Linked DNA regions of Homo sapiens: region 2 is linked to region 1. Evidence: promoter capture Hi-C in 16 types of primary human blood cells and fetal thymus (Javierre and others, 2016). All regions are on one chromosome and are shown on one strand. The core of a region is centred on a gene start or on the middle of the fragment in contact, and the rest is flanking DNA. Distances in the headings are between cores, read along the strand shown.

The links. Contacts are between HindIII fragments. The CHiCAGO score rates a contact against its expected background, and 5 or more counts as called.
Region 2: a contact is called between a fragment that was not itself captured here and the fragment with the promoter of LYSMD1 in region 1, in 1 of 17 cell types (naive CD4 T cells). The highest score is 5.9, in naive CD4 T cells.

What each region holds. Positions count from the first base shown.
Region 1 is chr1:151,164,421-151,167,430 of GRCh38, reverse strand. LYSMD1 (LysM domain containing 1) reads left to right here and starts at 1,529. Exons shown (of 3, transcript NM_212551.5): 1 at 1,529-2,352. The coding sequence starts at 2,173. It overlaps TNFAIP8L2-SCNM1 (TNFAIP8L2-SCNM1 readthrough), which reads right to left. Exons shown (of 7, transcript NR_144937.2): 2 at 890-960; 3 at 409-497; 4 at 213-310; 5 at 17-105. SCNM1 (sodium channel modifier 1) reads right to left here and starts at 1,287. Exons shown (of 7, transcript NM_024041.4): 1 at 1,228-1,287; 2 at 890-960; 3 at 409-497; 4 at 213-310; 5 at 17-105. The coding sequence starts at 1,278. RefSeq lists enhancers at 1,239-1,288, 635-1,341, 1,309-1,588, 1,342-2,047. The HindIII fragment of the contact is 8,952 bases long and covers 1-3,010 here.
Region 2 is chr1:151,027,854-151,030,863 of GRCh38, reverse strand. It overlaps PRUNE1 (prune exopolyphosphatase 1), which reads right to left. Exons shown (of 8, transcript NM_021222.3): 7 at 1,920-2,078. Among named protein-coding and RNA genes, the nearest start is that of BNIPL, 7.2 kb to the left of the region's middle. The HindIII fragment of the contact is 8,691 bases long and covers 1-3,010 here.

The DNA of each region.
Region 1 (3,010 bases), core at 280-2,779:
CTTTCCCGTCCCATACCTGTACTTCCGGCGGCAGCAACTGTTATAGTGGGGAGCTCTGTGCAGAGCACTCTGGGTGATAAGTCGTGTCTGAGTTAGCAGAGGAGCCTGGTAAGGAGATGGGAGACAGAGTCAGAGCCTTCAGCCCTCCGCCCTTCCAGCCTGGTGTGTGCAGCAGGGTCTTGCCTAGAACACACTCTCCACTCTCTGATTACCTCAGCTTTGGTTTCTTCCCTTCTCAATTCATTCTGATGTTTTGGATTCTGCTTTCTTTCCTTTCCCGGCTGCTTCTTGCCATAGAAAAGCTGCAAGCCTGAGGAGAAAGGGAAACAGAATTAAAAGCATAGCACCAAGAGTGGTGTGCAGAGATTTCGAGGGTTTATTCCCCATCCCGTCTTCCCCCTAACTTACTGGACAGATGTTTCTTGCCTGCACGGTGGGCAGTCAGCATGGCCAGGGTGTCCAGTACCGGTCGATGGGGGCAGATGGCACAAGCAAAGCTGAGCAGGGGTAGAGAAGAGGATAAGTGGTCCAGGGGAAGAGGGTTGGGCCCGTCCCTGCCATAGGTCCCACCCTGTCCTAGCAGTCTTTGCAAAACCCAACTCCCTGGTGACCCAATCTCCACTTCTTCCAGTCCTCACTGGCCGCCAAAGAATCCTAGGTACTCCTGCTGTCCTAATTAATAACAAAAGTTTGTTGAAGCCAGGCGTGGTGGCATGCGCTTGTAAACCCAGCTAATCGCGACGCTGAGGAGGCAGGATCACTTGAGCCCTAGAGTTCGAGGGCAGCCTGGGCAGCACCGCGAGACCTCCGTCTCAAAGGAAAAAAAAAAAAAAGTCTATTGAGCCTCTAACCGCAGAACCCTCAGGCTTGAGCCACTCCTTGCTCTTACCGTCCATCCCGAAGCATCAGCGCCTCATCCTCTGGAATGTAACTGGCTAGGAGGTCCCCGACTCTTCTTTTCTGCAGGGAGTAGGGGAAGAAATCCGGACGGGATCAGCGGGATAGGAGAGAGGGGTGGAAGTGAAATTATAGAAATGAGGAGTGAAATGGAATAAGGACCCTGGGGAGAACAGCGATCATAGACCGAAAAAGGAGTCACTACACAGCTCTAAGTCGCCTGGTTCTCTCCTGCACCCCCGAGTTGTTGCCAGAGCAATGAAACAAAGCTCCTTCCCAACCTTCAGGGAGCGACTGAAGCGGCTCCAGATCCTCTCCGCTCACGCTTACTTTGAGCACATTGAGTTGACTCCAATCGTCTCCTTCCCTCTTGAAAGACATCACGACTGTGAGTCCCAGAAGTGATAAATTCTCTGTTCCGGTTTCGCCACTCCTCCAGGCCACCGTAGCAAGAGCGGGACAGCGCCTTCTCTTTTTTCCTTCTCTTCCTGTCGGCCTCCGTACTTCCGGGGACGCACTTCCACGCATGCATTGCGCGATCCGGAAATCCACTCTCTGGTGCTCGGAGGGAACTGCATTTCCTATGGTGCCCTGCGACTCCGCAGACGCGGAGCCTTTTGGGAAATGAAGTCTTTTCTCAAAGACCTTGCCGCTCAACTGGATCCAGGCCCTTGCATCTTGGCGGATCTGAGGCGTTTGGAGGGACAACAACCTAGATGTGGAGCCGAAATTTGAGGGTGTGACCTATCTTATGCGGAGCGGACCTTTGAGGATCTCTGAGTGGAAGGTGTACTACAAATTCTTGCAATCCTCACGCTCTTCGTCTGCGGCGACAGTTCACCTGGGGTGGGCCTGATTTGTTCCTGACTCTAGCAAACAAACCCCGGGACCGGGGAGAGCTGGGATGTTGGAGCGCCCTGAGGCCAGGCTACTTGGGGGCAAACTGAGGAAAGAGTGTTGAGGATTATTTCTAGAGTTCAAAGGTCAGAGGTCAATGTAGCGAGGAGTTGTGGGGGAGTCCAAAGTCGGAGGGGTGCTTAGGGGAGAATTAGGGAGGGACTGAATACTCAAGGGACAGATTTGTGGATAAGTAGCTTGGAGGGAGGAGAAACCGGGAGGGGGCAGATGGCGTAGTGCTGGGGAGGCGGGGACACAGGGGAAGAGAGAGGGGGAAAGGAATCCCCTGAATATTCATTCCCAGACTTCAGGCCTGTCAGTCGCAGTCTCGGTCGTACCTCCCCTAGTTGCAACCTTAGCTGTTGGCAGGGTGAAGAGATGGCTTCCCCGTCTAGACAGCCCCCGCCAGGGGGGTCAGGACTGCTTCAAGGGAGCCGGGCTCGTTCATATGGAAGCCTGGTGCAATCGGCCTGCTCCCCAGTGAGGGAAAGACGCCTGGAGCATCAGTTGGAGCCCGGAGACACCCTGGCTGGACTAGCACTCAAATATGGGGTGACGGTGAGTTTTCCAGGATTGGGGTGAAGACAACAGTCAGGAGGGATTTAGTCCTGAGAAGAATGTAGTGGCCCTTCTAGGTAACCTCCCCTGAAATGTTCCTAATGTGTTGCACTCTGTTCTGCCTTTATCTTTGTTTTCCCATCACAGTGTTGCACAAGTCCTGCCCTACTATTCCAACGGAGAGGAACAGCTCCTATTTTATTATGCCAGACACTGTGCTGAGGGCTTCACATACGTTAGCTCATTTCACCCTCACATCTGTATCAAGTATACATTTATCGTTCCCTTTTGGCAGATGAAGAAACTGAGACTTGGATTGGTTAACCAGTTTGGCTAAGGTCAAATAATGAGCGTCAGATTTGGGATTCAAACAGGTCTGTCTGACTCTATTAACCACACAGAAAATTTTATGTTGAGAGTGATTAAACGTTTACAGCAACTAATGGAGAGCTGATTTTTAGTTCTCAGTTCCTAAAGTGCCCACCTCTCCTTGCTCTTGGTTCCTCCTCAATGCTCTGCCTTCTTTCCAGTAAGGTGGCCTCCTTTGTGCAAAACAGGTACTCTACACCAAGTATTTCAGGTCATGCATGGGGGAAATTGGATAGATGTAAAAATGTACAGCATTGAAGTTGATGGGGTTACTCCCCCTATCCCTGCC
Region 2 (3,010 bases), core at 251-2,750, 140 kb after region 1:
CCTTAGCTCAAAGAGTGAGTAAGAGGCAAACCTAGAACAGAAAAGCACATCTACCTGACTTTAAAAACTGCAGTTCTTGGCCAGGTGCAGTGGCTCAGGCTTGTAATTCCAGCACTTCGGAAGGCCAAGGCAGGTGGATCACTTGAGGTCAGGAGTTCGAGACCTGCCTGGCTAACATGGTGAAACCCCATCTCTACTAAAAATACAAAAATTAGTCAGGCATGGTGGCAGGCGCCTGTAGTCCCAGCTACAGGCTGAGGTGGGAGAACTGACTGAACCTGGGAGGTGGCGGTTGCAGTGAGCCAAGATCACACCACTGTACTCAAGCCTGGGCGACAGAGTGAGACTCCATCTTAAAAAACAAACAAACAGACAAAACTGCAGTTCTTTTCATAATGACGAACTACCTTACACTGAATGAAATCAGATTTGCTTCCTGGGGAGAAGGCAAAGGCAAAGGGGGGCGGGAAAGGACAGACATACCTTCTATGAGAGCAAAGGATTATCTGGCTGTATTCTGTCTTTAGCAGTCCTCACAGAGCCTAGGCAACCCTCAGAATCCCTGAACTGCCTTAAGCCCACCTTTTTTTTTTTTTTTTTTGGAGACGGAGTCTTGCTCTGTTGGCAGGATGGAGTACAGTGGCGCAATCTCGGCTCACTGCAACCTCTGCTTGCCGAGGTTCAAGAGATTCTCCTGCCTCAGCCTCCTGAGTAGCTGGGACTATAGGCACGCACCACCACGCCCAGCTAATTTCCGTATTTTTAAAAGAGATGGGGTTTCACCATGTTGGCCAGGATGGTCTTGATCTCTTGCTCTCGTGATCTGCCCGCCTCAGCTTCCCAAAGTGCTGGGATTACAGGTGTGAGCCACCGCACCCAGCCTTAAGCCCACTTTTAAATTCTTCCCTAGGCTAATCAGTAACCAGCAGAGGAACAGAAGGGGGAGGAAGTAGGAAAGATAGCCAAATCTGGATCTAGATCACTTCTTTACAGAGTTTGCACTATACAGAATAATTAATCCCTGCATAGTAAGTAGCAGAAAAGGTCTCTCGTATTTCTAATTTTCAAGGCAACAGCATAATTCCAGGGGTGAGGAATTAATGATTAAACCAAGAATAGAGTTTTTGTTTTTTTTTTTCCCCAACAGAGATGAGGTCTTGCTATCTTTGCCCAGGCTGGACTCAAACTTTCCAGCTCGGCTGGGCGCGGTGGCTCACGCCTGTAATCCCAGCACTTTGGGAGGCCAAGGCGGGCGGATCACGAGGTCAGGAGATCGAGACTATCCTGGCTAACACGGTGAAACCCCGTCTCTACTAAAAATACAAAAAATTAGCCGGGCGTGGTGGCGGGCGCCTGTAGTCCCAGCTACTCGGGAGGCTGAGGCAGGACAATGGCGTTAACCCAGGAGGCAGAGCTTGCAGTGAGCCGAGATTGTGCCACTGCACCCCAGCCTGGGCAACAGCACAAGACTGTCTCAAAAAAAAAAAAAAAAAAAAAACTTTCCAGCTTAAGCAATCCTTCTGCATCAGCCTCCCGAGTTGCTGGGACTACAGGCACGTGCCACTGTCCCTAGCTCAAGAAGGGAATTTTAACTCCGGATTTATAACATTTCCTTCTAACTAGATTTCGTTCTTTCAAAGTAGGAATTGAATCTCTAGTTCTCTTTGGAATTCCCCCTTTCTCAACAATGCTATGATTAAGGATGTTCATTAAAAAAAAAAAAAGGATATTCATATAGAGAGAGAATGGGAAAAAGCAGAAAGGGGAGGAAACAGGTCCAGAAACAGGTCAAGGGACCTCATGTAAGTACATTAATATAAGAACCTAAGAGAGGTCCTTATAGGACAGCTGTAGAGCACAGAGGTACATACAGGCAGACTCTGTAAGGCTCTTAGGTTGGAGAAGGGACACAGACTCACCGTTGTTTGGAGTGCCACATGGGGACAGAAAATAGCCAACTGCCGCACTGGCTCATTGTGAGTGTTGAAAAAGATAGTCATGGCAACCAGGACATCATAGCTGTGAGCCTGGCAGAAAGCATGGAGATCTGCAAGGAGGTTAGACCTCTGCAGAAAGGCCTGAAAGGGAAGAAACGGAGAGGGATGAAGGACTTTCTCATCATCATCAATAAAACATCCTTGGGCCGGGCACGGTCGCTTACGCCTATAATCCTAGCACTTTGGGAGGCCGAGGCAGGTGATCACTTGAGGTCAGGAGTTCGAGACCAGCCTAGCCAACATGGTGAAACCCTGTCTCTGGTAAAAATACAAAAATTAGCCGGGCATGGGGGCATATGCCTGTAATCCCAGCTACTCAGGAGGCTGAGGCAGGAGAATCGCTTGAACCAGGGAGGCGGAAGTTGCAGTGAGCTGAGATTGCGCCATTGCACTCCAGCCTGGGGGACAAGAGCGAAACTCCGTCTCAAAAAACAAAAACAAAACAAAACAAAACAAAAAATTAGCTGGGCATGCCGGCACGCACCAGTAATCCCAGCTACTAGGGAGGCTGAGGCAGGAGAATTACTTGAACCCGGGAGGCAGAGGTTGCAGTGAGCTGAGATCATGCCATTCCACTCCATCCTGGGCAACAGAATAAGACTCAGGCTCAAAACAAACAAACAAACAAACATACATACATAACTGCTAGAGGTTTTTTGAGCATAGGAGATAGTACTTCAGTTAGGGTGGTCAGGAAAAACCTCCCAAAACAAGAGACATCTGAGCTGAGTACCTGAATGTTAAGAAGGAGCCAGCTTTACAAAGAAAAAAGCTCAGCTGGGAATGAGCTTAATGGTTCTGAGGAACAGAAAAGAAACCAGTGTGGCTGCAGTACTGTAGAACAGGAGTGGAGCTGGAATGAGATGAGGCCAGAGAAAAAGACAAGGGCCAGATCAAGCATGGCGCTGTAAACCACAGTAAGTCCTTTAGATTTTATTAAAAATACAATGAGGCCGGGCACAGTGGCTCACGCCTATAATCCCAGAACTTCGGAGGCCAAAAGGAGAACTGCT